3 separate regions of the Homo sapiens genome follow, and regions 2 and 3 are each linked to region 1. The links are contacts of gene promoters, found by promoter capture Hi-C in blood cells and fetal thymus (Javierre and others, 2016). All regions are on one chromosome and are shown on one strand. The core of a region is centred on a gene start or on the middle of the fragment in contact, and the rest is flanking DNA. Distances in the headings are between cores, read along the strand shown. Region 1 holds the start of CBLB (Cbl proto-oncogene B). Region 2 has its middle 270 kb from the start of CBLB. Region 3 has its middle 290 kb from the start of CBLB.

What was found. Contacts are between HindIII fragments. The CHiCAGO score rates a contact against its expected background, and 5 or more counts as called.
Region 2: a contact is called between a fragment that was not itself captured here and the fragment with the promoter of CBLB in region 1, in 1 of 17 cell types (activated CD4 T cells). The highest score is 5.1, in activated CD4 T cells.
Region 3: a contact is called between a fragment that was not itself captured here and the fragment with the promoter of CBLB in region 1, in 4 of 17 cell types (activated CD4 T cells, total CD4 T cells, naive CD8 T cells and 1 more). The highest score is 7.9, in activated CD4 T cells.

What each region holds. Positions count from the first base shown.
Region 1 is chr3:105,867,358-105,871,950 of GRCh38, reverse strand. It overlaps CBLB (Cbl proto-oncogene B), which reads left to right and starts at 2,939. Exons shown (of 19, transcript NM_170662.5): 1 at 2,939-3,215; 2 at 4,360-4,541. The coding sequence starts at 4,374. RefSeq lists a silencer at 2,741-2,970. The HindIII fragment of the contact is 9,979 bases long and covers 1-3,624 here.
Region 2 is chr3:106,138,598-106,142,826 of GRCh38, reverse strand. No RefSeq gene overlaps it. Among named protein-coding and RNA genes, the nearest start is that of CBLB, 270 kb to the right of the region's middle. The HindIII fragment of the contact is 2,131 bases long and covers 1,247-3,377 here.
Region 3 is chr3:106,158,002-106,162,771 of GRCh38, reverse strand. No RefSeq gene overlaps it. Among named protein-coding and RNA genes, the nearest start is that of CBLB, 290 kb to the right of the region's middle. The HindIII fragment of the contact is 3,859 bases long and covers 1-3,482 here.

The DNA of each region.
Region 1 (4,593 bases), core at 1,690-4,189:
ACATTACTCACTTACTAGCCACCCTTGTGCTTACAAGATCCTTCATGTAGGAGCGCCACCATTCTGTCTTATGTCAGGATCTTCCAGTAGAACACTGCTGTCCCGTAATAAGGCCATATACATGTTCTTTCTAGGTTACAATTTCCCACACTGCTAACTGATGCTGCATTCACTTTAAACTGCACCCTACTGGGGACTGACTTGTTCTATAGAAATGAGGTGACTGTTTCTCTAGCCAACTCTGTCAGCTTGAAGTACTACTGCTTATGTCCTAAAATCTCTTATGGAAACATTTCTTTGTCTTCTTATTTATAGTCCTGAAGCATGCATCTTTTATTGTGCTTTATCTCTTGTGTCTCTACTGGAGGCACCCGGGGTTTGAAGTTTTATCCCAGCAGTTATTTATTCCCCGTGCACATTTACTTTTTCTAATAATTGGCAGGGAGGACTTCTACTGCTCCATCAGTTTATGAGAGAAAACCAAACTGAATCCGAGTTTCAGCTCAACTGGGAACCCTGCTACACCAGAACTTAACCTGGATTCCAGATTGCTTGATAAAATAGCTAGTTGATGATAAGCTATAATTTCTTGACCACACACACACACACACACACACATGCGTACATATGTACATACAGCAGTTCCCTTCATCCACAGGATATGCTCAAACCCACAGTGCATGCTTGAAATCTCAGAAAATACTGAACGCTATATATACTATGAGTATTCCAATACATACATACCTATGATAAGTTTATGAAGTAGTCACAGTAAGAGATTAATAACAATAACTATTAATAAAATAATAACAATATGCTGTAATACAAGTTATATAAATGTGGTATTTTTCTCTCTCTCAAAATATCTTTTTGTACTATACTCACCTATTTTCAAACCCTGGTTGTCCACAGGTAACTAGAACCAAGGAAAGTGAGATGGCAAATAAGTGGTAAGGGATGCTACCGTATCTCACATACATATATTTCAAAATACGTCAAACCATACACCTCAAAACTTGTAATTTATATCAACATGATATGCTTGATACCATAGGCAATGCCATTTTCTCATTAACTCATCTCTTTCAGTTGCAAAACACCATATAAAAGGAATGGCACATGCTATAACATGTATTTTGGGTATTTTACATTTATCCAGATATGAATATAAGTAATATACTTAGTTATAATGTTCCCTTAAGCCACTGTTTTGCTACATGCTTCTACACATTAATTCTTTTAAAATTTATTTTAAAGGTAACACAGTTTTTTTCTTTTACAGTCTCCCCTTAGTAAATGTAGCTACTACGACTATGAGTAAAAGAGATATGGATGGGTGGAGGAGATATGGAGAGGCCAGCACTTTTGTAGATAAATGCAATGTGAAAACAAGGAACTACTCTTTAATTACTGGCACAGAAATAATGACAAGGAAACAAAATTACTTCCTGAATCACACTTTATCACCTGACTGGTTGCAAAGGCACATTTTTTTTCTGTTTTCGTCAAATTAAAATCTTAACCATGTAAATTCAAGGCTGTAAAGGAAAACTCAGGATCCTTCATAGTAATAATTACAGTATTAAAATTCTTAGTTGCTAGAAAGTGGTTAGAACCATTGAGAAACATTTTATCAGGTTACGTGGTTAGAGCAAGATTTGAAAAAACAAAATCAAAAACAAAAAACCCAATGTAAAATATCAGAACATCTGAGATGTCCAAGCTGAAAAGTGTAATAAACGCTATCAACTGTAGTGGAAAGAAAGTTCCAAAGTATGAAGTCCAGAGCAATTGTTGGTAGCATGAGTGGTGGGATTGAAGTAAACTGAAATAAATGGAAGGCATTTGTTTAACCTATGATATTGCTGAAAGACAAGTCCCAGCACAGTAGCTTTCTCCTTTAAAGACTAGCCAGATGTCGGCCTTTTTAAGAGCACAAAGAAGGGAGCCACAGAAAGAGGTAACAATGCTGGTAGAGAATGGCAGCTACAGTAAGGTTGTTTTTAAATGGATAGAAATCTATGTAAAGGTGACTCCGACAAAACACAGTAGCTGTCTCCTCCTCAGTCATTTAGGCAGAAACTTGCACTAAGTAAAAAGGTGCAAGGTATTTATCAGCAATTCCCATTATCTGGTACTTTTATTGCTTTGGCATGATTAGCAGAGACTGTTTGGCCAGCGTTGTCAACTATTTGCTTTTTCATCAGCCTGATGTTTGGTCTGCAATCCCTCTAAAACTAACAGCAAAAGAGAAACTCGGAAACTTGGGAAGTTTCAGTTGGCATTCAGATGTCACCCCAGCCTACTCTCTGTGAGATTTATTCTGCATTTTAGAAGCTCAGTGGCTGTTGCTCTTTTTGATAGCCAACAAGAAGCAACGTCATAGACCTGTTTGGCTGCTGTCCTGGGTAGAAGGGTTTGGCAGCCCTAGGGAGATGAATTTCTCCAGCGTTGGACCCGCCCAGAGCGGAGAAGCAACACCCTTCCAGCCACTACTCTGTTGCTATGAAACAAAAGACTAGGAAGGTAAGCGAAGCAGGAAGTCCCGCCTTTCAGCCCCAGATGGCTTTGGCTCCCGGTCCCGACGCTCACGCCCACCTGCCACCCCTTATTGGTTAGCTCCTTCGTGCCTTGCATCCCTTCGTCCATTTCCTTTCCCGTTTCCACTTTCGTTCCCGGGAGAGTCCAGGCCCCTCATTTCTCTCCGAGTCCAATTCCTTTCTGACGTGCTGCGAGCGGGCCTTCCTCTGGGGCCATTGTGTACTGTGGAGGACGTGGACGGGGCGGCAGCGCGAGGAGGACGGGCGCCTCCCGTCCATTGGCTGCACCCGCTGTCGGGCAGTGCGCGGTTGCGCGGCATTGGCTCAGCGGCGCCCGGCCCCGCCCCCGCCCCGCCCCGCCCCGAGCCTGGGTCCTGTGTGTGCCACAGGGGTGGGGTGTCCAGCGAGCGGTCTCCTCCTCCTGCTAGTGCTGCTGCGGCGTCCCGCGGCCTCCCCGAGTCGGGCGGGAGGGGAGAGCGGGTGTGGATTTGTCTTGACGGTAATTGTTGCGTTTCCACGTCTCGGAGGCCTGCGCGCTGGGTTGCTCCTTCTTCGGGAGCGAGCTGTTCTCAGCGATCCCACTCCCAGCCGGGGCTCCCCACACACACTGGGCTGCGTGCGTGTGGAGTGGGACCCGCGCACACGCGTGTCTCTGGACAGCTACGGCGCCGAAAGGCAAGAAGGGAAGGGGTCGCCGGGGAGGCTCCACACTTCTTGCCGGCCCGGGGGCCCGGGGTAGCCAGGCGCGGGCCAAGGAGGAAGAGGGGACAGCCCTGGCTCTCAGCTGCCTTTGCCGCCGCCGTCCAGTTTGAAGTGGGGCATTTAAAGACCAGAACCCGCAGGCCGGGGAGGAGGGAGAGGGCGTCCAGGCAGACGGCGGTGAGGACTGCAGCAGGCGGCCGGGAGGCGCGTCCACCCAGGCGCCGAGCCCACAGTGTCCCTCCCGCGCCCTAGACGGACGGTGCTGCGGGCACGGGAGGGACACTTTGTCCCCTCCCAGTCCACCTTCCTCCTGCAGCTCAGACCCGAGGGGCCGGGAAGGGGCCTGAGCAGGGAAGGGACACAGGCGTCCTGAAACAAAGCTTTGGGTTGAGGGCAGAGGCGAGGAGCCAGAGAAGTGAACTCCTCCTTTCCGTGGCCGCTCTTGTCATTTTTCTCTTTTCTCTTTTCAAATGGGCTATTTGTGTGTTAATTTCATTTGGTTCTTGGGAATAACGACTCACCGCGTTGATTTAAAGAAAGGTGTTCGTGTGTCCGTACTTGGTGGTTTTAGTGTGGGACATGCCCTGCGCTTTTGTTGACAACAGAGCTGTCCCTTACGTTTGTGTAGGATAATCTTTATGTTTATGTAACTTGGAGAAATCTAACAGAGTGAAAGTGAAGTTTCTGCGTAAGGCTCCCAAAATGTATGATAGGACCTTCAGTTGTTCTGGTATTTTGAATTGGAATTAAGGCAGGAGGGGAAGAACATTCTGTTTTTATCTAGGTGGGGGAAACCTGTTTAAGTTTTGTTTGTTCTTTTTTTTTTTTTTATGAGTTGAGTATTAGTTCAGCCTTAGCTACTTGAAACGTGAGCAGGATGCATCTTTAACTCTTAGTATTGTAAAAGCAAATCTAGGATCACTGCTCTTAAAACTACTGTGTGTAAAGATTGAGAGTGTAAATTCACAAGCTTATTGATAAAGATGAATCCGGAACTTTTGGTTTTGCTCTAATCGATGGAGGAAGATGCAGTGGTACAAGTTAGTCTCTAGTTTTCTGGTGGGTAAATATTTTCAAAACCAACTAACTTTTCTTTTTTTAAATCTGCCTTTTAAAGAACTAAAATTCCAGATGGCAAACTCAATGAATGGCAGAAACCCTGGTGGTCGAGGAGGAAATCCCCGAAAAGGTCGAATTTTGGGTATTATTGATGCTATTCAGGATGCAGTTGGACCCCCTAAGCAAGCTGCCGCAGATCGCAGGACCGTGGAGAAGACTTGGAAGCTCATGGACAAAGTGGTAAGTTCTGTCTGACGTTGCCTGTGCGAAACACTATTCACTTTGTCTGTGG
Region 2 (4,229 bases), core at 1,063-3,562, 270 kb before region 1:
AAGCCATCATCATGCTTTCTTTGAGACATAGCTGTACTTTCACTTTTCAAACTTTTCAACTATTTTTTTCTGTTTATTATTTCCTACCTTTCCAAATTATGGGAAAACTTCATTAATTTTGACTTGTTGAGGGACAAATGTTTAAGGTTGAGAAAAAGGGCTGAAGTAATTATTAGAAATTAGAGGTCTGGATCCATGTTGACCACTAAATAGGATGAGAACTTGGACAGTTATAATTATCTGTGCCTCAGATTGGGACTCCTGAATGACTCTCTTTTCTACCCGCCTCTATAAAATCCCAGGCTCCTTTCCTTTTCTTGTCAAGCTGTTTCTCATGAATGAATGTTGTCTTTATTTCAATAACCTGAATAAAATCTTTTTTCTAGTTGTCCCGTGCATTTTGTCTTTCACAGTTTGATGCCAAGACTCAGAGGGGATTGGATCTCACCTTCGGATCCCCATTTACTCCACCCTGATAAGGAGGCCTCTCTGGTCCCTTGGTGCTCCATTCCTAACTGGCAGTCCGGGGACCCAATGGTGTGTCCTACATCTGGTCTTGTGCTCTGTAGTCTCGTCTGTTGGTTGTGTGGTAAGGATTTGATTTCATTTTTATTCAGCACTCACTTGATTTCTAATGCTGGCTTCTTTTTAAAAAAATAAAAATAAACCATTTGACCACTCATTTGGTGGTCTCCAATGAATGGTTTGTAGAGATTTTGTCTCTGCTGGGTGAAAGATGACAGAAAATCTGTTTTTTAAATCTCTGTGTATCTATTATGAGCTCAAATCAAGTAAGAATTCAGACCCACTAGAAAGAGAACAGCTTTTTTATATAAATTTTGTATTTCTGTTTATGATCAACTTATGAGTAAAATTTTAGAAGTGAAGTTACATCTGTGTGTATAAAGTATGTTTATATGTCTATAATTTATAAAGCCCTTTCCCTCTCACTGGGTGGAATATTTTCCTAATTCCACATGGTATTCATAAGTTAGATTGCAAACTCTTTTATATTAAAGGAATCCTTTTCTAATTGGCTTTGAAAGGAATAAGCACTTACATAAATTAAATAATCCTAAAATTCTCAGAAACTAAGAAAAGTGAACATCTTATAGTTTCAGTGTGCAAAAAAAAAGATATTATAGAAACTAGCCTTGAACTATTTTAACAATTCAAGTTAATATAATTCAAGTAAGTTTTCATCAAACAAAACTAGTTTTAAATTTTTGGTTTAGTGAAAAAAGCTTTCTCTGATTTTTCAGCACAAGTATAGTATACCTAATTTTATTTTACTTGAGTATATTCTTCCTAAACTTACATACATTTACTGAACAAATAAAGTAGCATTAGTGATCCTCCCACTTTGGCCTCCCAAAGTGCTGGGACTATAGGCTTGAGCCACTGCATCTGGCCTTGTTCTCCTGAATGTTTAAAACTACGAAGAGTATAAATTTGTGTTTTACCTAATTAAATCATTATTCTGAGAAAATTTTTTCATCATAAATTACGTTTTATCATAGAAAAGTTTGAATACAATCTCGAAGATCTTTGGGTAACTTGAAATCTTGACTCAATACAACCTTTCAAACTAATGTTTTCAATTTATCTCCCTTTTTCCTGACTTGGCCTCATTTAGAACTAAAATCTGAATGCACAGATTCTCATTGCCTTATATCCTGCTCATTTCCCCATAGTCTACAGAAGCCTTGAAATATTAACTTCAAAATATTATCATCACAGTAGACCACGCCTGGGCTGGATTTCTTCCTGGGCAAGTCTCTAACTAGAACGCAAAAAAAGTCAAGCCAAAAGGTTGGGTCATGTATGACCTTCTGCAAGAGATGTGGACAACATCACCAAGAATATTGACAGCCTAGCCCAAGAGCTACGAGAAACTCAAAGAACACTGCTTTACAACCAAAAGATTTTTACCCTCTGACTTCTTGGAATCCACTGGATTTGTTACCCTAAGTGGTTCAGCTCCTGGCTCGCTAATACAATGTTTTATATTAATATTTCTTTTTCATTTTAGATCTCTCTTTTTTTAGATGTCTAATCTTCAGGTATCTAAAACAACTCAACTTTGCCACCATCCCTCAATGGGTTGTTTAACTGGTTTTACAGGACACTGTCAAAAGAATCCCTGAAAGACTATATCTTAGGCCTTGCTTCATTCACCCCACTAAGGTTTATGACTACCTCTCAGTTGTTCAGTGATTAATGATGTTTATCTTTGAAACAGGGAGAATGAAAATGTTGAATGTCACCTGACTTTTGTACTCTTTGAAAGTAGTGATGGATAAGAAATTGCCTCATATTTTCATGTTCTGGGAAATCATAAGAGATTACTCTGCCCTTAAATGTAAGACCCATCTCCATGCATTCTCTGCAGTCCTATAAGAACTGAAGTTACCTCCCTTGTTTACTTGCCTCTATAAAACTCCAGTCCTTCTTCCTTTTCTTTTAGCTGTTCCTCATTAATGCACATTTTCCAGGCTGCAGTAGCCTGAATAAAATCATATCTTTAATTGTTCAGTGCATTTTGCCTTTCAAAAACTTCTCTAAATTCCATTTTTTTCACCTGTGCTTCTTAAATATCTGAAGATTCACAAATATATTGCAAAAGTTTGTGATTATTTAAGTTGGTAGTGGAGTTCCTTTTCAATACAATTTTTCAAACAAAAAATAATTATTTTCCCCTTTATAACTGAACAGATTTTTAGGACCTCAGAATGCACTTTGAGTATGCACAACAGGGAGTAGGAATCTGATTAACATGCTGTTCTCTCTCTCATGCTTGCATTCTCTCTCTCTCTCCGTCTCTCTCTCAGTATCTTTATCAGTCAGCTGAACACTGCTAGAACAATTTACACCCTAATGGATGATAGTTAAAGACCATAATCACAAGGAACACTTAATGTTGAACAATAAATGATTATTTTGCAAATTCACCTCAGGGATCTTCATTATATCTATAAATTATATCCTTCAGATAAAGACCATCACATGCCGTATAATAATTTCTGTAGTAATTTAAAAATATATATTAAAAAGATAAAAGATGGTACTGATCATAGCGCATTTGGAAATAAAGACTATCCATAACCACAATATATTTCATGTGGAAAAGTGAAAGTAAATAAAAGGCTGAAATCCTCTTTCATCTCCTCAGTTATCAACAGAGCACAGAAATTTTAAAGTTGAAGTTCTTTTAAGTGTAAGCTAAAAGAATTACAAACAGCAGCTCACAATGTCAGCTTTGTTCATTTTTAATACTGAAAATCTTTATTAAAGTATAATCTTTATTTTAATGTATATTTGGCCCTAATGTCAGATTTGATACAATGCCATCTTAAAGTTTATCATTAAGTCAAGCTTTTTCTCACATAATTACTTTGAAGTTAAATAGTTTCCTAACTATTATTAAAGTTCATGCTAAACCTTAAACACTATCTTTAATAATTCTAACCTAATATAAATATATTTTTTCTAAAAATCATATTTCATATCACTCAGGAATGATAAAATAGTATAAAAATCCATAACATGAAGCCTTTCAGAGTATGTACTGCAGTAAAAGATGTTTGAGGCAAACACATATAAACAGACTCAGATGATAAACACCGAAGGTCTTCTGTAGCCATAATTCTATGAAAATGTCATTATAAACATGTATAGCAAGTAATTTATTTAATTGTAACCTTTTTAAACAAACATAGAAATGAGTTGTGATAGCACGCATTATTCCATCTAGTTTCGCTGCTACAATTACATTAAAAAGGAAAAAATATGAAAGCTTAATATAGGGTGTTCTCTTAAGTAAATATTCCCTTAGCTTTTACACTCTTATTTTGCTGCCTTAGTACTTCCATTAATGAAGCAAGATTAATTTCAACTGAATCATAGCACTTTGATTGCAAATTCCTATTTAGGTAATTGTGAAAGAATGAGATTTTATGTTTGTTTCCATTTTGAAACCAAGAGATATAGTTCCTTTGCTTGCTTCAATTTGCGGGATATTACTATTAAATTTTTGGCACTCTTTCTTTTTTAGCTTTATTAAATTGTTGGCACGCTTTCTTTTTTAGCTTTATTTGTAGTAACTCAAACTACAATCTTATTTCCAAATCCCTCCTGTACCCAAGCGCAGTACTGAATTCTTTAATGTAGACCCTCCTTATTTCTTCTTCCCAATCCCTTTCTCTTTATTAGGTTTATCTTTGGGCATT
Region 3 (4,770 bases), core at 304-2,803, 290 kb before region 1:
CTCTTTAGGCACCAATATTTTTAAAGTAGGATCATTTCTCCTAATAATATGAATTTCCAGTTTTTCCAGAAAGATAGCAAGAATTACAATGCTGGGTCACAATGGCACGATAGTCTGAGGCTAAGGCCCACTTCAGATAAAGCATGCATTCTTTGTTTACCTCAGTGTCTGCTCACCACAATTTATTCACTGCTAATACCCTCTTGTTCCCTGCAGGTACATCTGTGTGTGACACCTATGTGTGTTTTTCAAAGAGCAAAAGTCTTTATAACTATAGGAGCTTATTGAGATAAAGAAAACTACAGCTTTTTAAAGACGGTAAGAGAGTCTTCAAAGGCTATTTTCTTTTGTGTTGCTGACCTGCTTGACTTAATAAAGTAGATATGAATGTGTAGAGAAATATAAAAAGAAAATAAATTCAAAGTAGGGTGAAATAAGAAATCACCTTTTATTTTTGCTCCAAATTTTCCATTCCTGTATTATCTAATTGAAATTATTACTAATAGTTTTATATACATCCTTCCATATATGTTTCTAAGTTTGTGTGTAGGTACACATACATGCATGCATCCACTGTTTACATTAATGGTATCAGAATACACGTCTTATTCCATGAATTTTTTTTTACATAAGAATAGAGCCCTTTTCATATAAGTACATATAAATCTGCTCCAAATTTTGATGGCAACATAATATTTAAAATGCAAATTATTAGTTTATTGAACCATTCCATCACTGATCCACATTTAGGCTGTTTCTGGTTTTTTACTTTTTGAACAATAATAATATGGCCATATTTATTCATATTTCTTGATGCACATTTGTCAGTGTGTATGCAGGATGAACTCATCCTAAGTTGTATTATGGGGTCAAAATAAGTGCATGTTTTAGAGTCTGATTGATATGGCTAGACAAAAGAAATCAATCATTAATCCTTGCCAAATGTTAAAGCCTTTCTTCTGATGTTTAGGTGAAGTATGGATCTGGTTAGATTTTGGTGAGGGCTCCCTAAATATAGTGTGACATTTTCATTTGATAAGAATATTTGTCTGGGTTATGTTCTCCCTATGTGCAAATTTAAACAGTTTCGTGTCAAAAACAAACAGAACGGCATCCACTCCTTGCTTCTCTCCCCTCCCCCTGCCACACACATAAACTGGTATACCTGTCTCTGGAAAGTAGACTGGACATCTTTTACTTATGATGAAGATGACAATAGAGACATAATTGATCTTCATTGCAACAAATCGGATGCCTAGAAGGAAGCCAAATGGTAGAGATACAGGGCTCTGTGTCAAAAATCCTAAGAGGCAGGAAGTGCCCTGGGATATGCTCCAGCTGCAGCGGAAATGTGAGAAGCCTCAAATGGTTAAAAGGTAATAGCCTGCTGAAGGAGAGACGTGTGTGTAGCAGGATGTGTTGCTACAAAGAATTTCTCTAGCTCTTTGTTGTTAAGTTAATTTAATACTGTGCATATCCATTTGCTTTCTACTGAATTTTACTGCGTAAGATAAGAAAAAGGCTATGGTATATAGACATTCATTTCACCTCTTCTGCTGATGCCACACCTTTGCATCTTACCTGTAACTTCCCTGTGAAAACACCACTGAAGAGGCAATGAGTTATAAAATGGCTACTTTTTTTCCTCCAAAATAATATTTCACTAATACCTGTGTTTGGAAATTCATATAGAATTCTAATTACACACATTTATTATGAAATGTGATATTTATTCTAGGGGAAAGTATATCCTATTATTTAATAATAGTTTTGTCCAAAGGGCAAATATTAACAGAGATTAATGGATTCATCCTTTTAACATTTATACAATGTGGGAAAGGGCAAATAACATTATTCTCATTAAAGATTATTATATTTCATAGAATAAGTACCAGTATGTTTTGAGCCTAACTGAACATAATTTATGAGTGTAGAAATCTAAATTATTCATATCAATAGCTTTTATTTGTGGAGTATCAGCAGTTCGTCACATACCCTAACTGGAGCAACATCAGCAACCTTGTGAATTTTGCAGAATAGGTGCTAAATTTGATTTGCCAATGTTGCCTCAAGTTCACTTGTAAAAGGTCAGTATACAAATGAATTTAATAAGCAATTTTGAGATTAGAAATCTGAGAGGTTAAGTGTATTACCCAAGACCATATTAGTAACAGACCAAGGCCAACATTTCCACAGAGCTCAAGGGCAGAACTACTTACCTCCTACTTGCTTTTATTTTCTTTCTTCAGAGAGAATGTGTTCTTTCTTGTGAGGTTTTTCACTTGCCCACCCTGTCAGTAACAGGCATTAGGACTTCCAAACCACTCTCCACAATGAGAGTCTCCACTCTCCACTGTCACTTGGCATTAGCTGTGCTGTTTTGTTTTGCTTTGTTTTTTGTTTTGTGTGAGACAGAGTCTGGCTTTGTCACCCAGACTGGGGTGCAATGGAGACATCTCGGCTCACTGCAACCTCCACCTCCCGGGTTCAAGCGATTCTCCTACCTCAGCCTCCCAAGTAGCTGGGATTGCAAGCACACACCACCACTCCCAGCTAATTTTTGTATTTTCAGTAGAGACAGGATTTCCCCATTTTGGCCAGGCTGGTCTCAAACTCCTGACCTCAGGTGATCCACCCGCCTCCGCCTCCCAAAGTGCTGGGATTACAGGCGTGAGCCACTGTACCTGGCAGGTTTTGGATCCATTGAAGAAATAGTATTTTGAAGTTGTAAATGATAAAATATACACGAAAAGTTGCAACAGAACTGAAACAAAAGTGAAGACAGAGAATAAAATACTAGCTATCAGTTTTTAATGAGTTCACGCATCTACCTCCAGGAAAACTTGTTGTGGTGAAAAGAGTTGTATCCAACTTTGGGTTCAGTTCTGGGTTTTGCATTTCTAGCTGTGTGAAATACAAGCAAAATATTTTTTTAGCTGCTTTGAACCTTAATATCTTCAGTGATAAAATGGGAATGACAATAGCTATGTCATAACGTGTTTTTTAAGAGTTAAGGTAATGTATGTAAAATCATTGTACCTTGTGAGTTCTTAATAAATTGTAGCAGTAATTAATAAAGTATGAAATCAGATTGCTGAATTGACTTACATATCATATGATATCTAGAATACATTGTTAATTAGTAACTGATTTACCAAAATTTATAGGGGCAGGGAAACAGTGAGTACTAAGACTTAGCAAGTATTCACTTAACTCAAAGGATGCTATACAAATCTCATTTCTATTAGAGTGTGATGTTAGATCAGGGATCAGCAAACCACAGCACACAGTCCAAATCTGGCATGCAGTCTGCTTTTGTGTTTCTGAGAACTAAAACTTTTTTTCATATTTTTAAACAAGCAAACCAAAAACACAGAAGAATATTTCTTCACATGAAAATTATACAAAAATCAAATTTAAGTCTTCATAATCAAGTTTACTAGAACATAGCCACACTTATGCATTTGTCATACAAGGAAGCTTTGGCATTACAATGACAGTCCTTGGAACAGAGATCATATGATCTACAAAACCTAAAATCTTTACTTTCTGGCCTTTTATGGAAAAAGTTTGCAGATTCTGTACTAGACTATTGGGTCACAGAAATTTCCCAGACACATTATTTCTGTATTTAAGAAATAATTTAACAAAGCCAACATGCCATCTGTCTAACATAAGCGCTTCCTCTCCATATGCTGAGCTAAATTCTGAAAGAGGGCAGCCCACCGTAGATTATATTCCCTAGGCCTCTTTTGTCTAGATGGGCCATATGACAAGTTTTGCCAATGGAATGTGAGTGAAAATGATGAGCATCCTTTCTAGACAGGGGTTTGAAGAAGCAGATGTTCCTTCCAGCTAACTGAAGCAGAAGACTCAAAGACCCTAAGAATGACAGAACCATAAAACATAAGGAGTCTAGATGGCTGTATCACATGTGGAAGAGAGATACGCACCTACCAAAAACATCTGGTCTGTACTGTTGAGTGGCAAATGAAGTTCTATTGTTTAATCATTGAAACTTGGGAGTTGGTTGATTATAGCTATTAGGATTTTCCTAACTAATTGACTTCTCAAGATATCCTCCTAGAAAAAATACAGAAATATAGCTGAATAACAAAACTTGAATGAATTCAGAGATGAACAACTGAGCCCAGACATGGTTGATTAAACAATTAACACCAAAATGGGCAGAATAGGTGTAACACAGGGATTTTCTATCCTTGGACCTATGCTGATAACCAATTCTATGAAACTTAATGAGCGTTTAGAAATGTTTTGAAGGTTGCCTGCCTTTGGAAGAGTTATGTTTTTTTAAGTCAGTGGATAGAATCATTGGGACAAATTTATAAAGACATAGTCAGCTTAGCATAAAGAATAATTAAAAAATAAAAGAGAGACAGTTGCCTGAAAGGAGCTACTTTGCAATATAGTGTGTCCTCCACAAAGTGGTCAAGCAGTGTATGAAGAGCTTTCATTATTTTGGCAAAAGAGAGTTCATAATTACTCAGGAAGTTGAATTAATAATTCCTTCAATTCCTCCTAACTTTTGATTATTTAATTTCATCACCAAAGGTTATCTTGTTTTAATCGTAAACTTGCTATTTAGTTTCAGGAAATAGACAAATCGACAAGATGAACAGACAACTCTGCCACTGATTTTCTGTAAATTGACTATATTCACAGGTCATAAATATATAATCCAGGAACTCTTGATTAAATTATTCATTCTGTCATACAGTAAATAAGGTACAATGGAGAAAAGAAAGATAA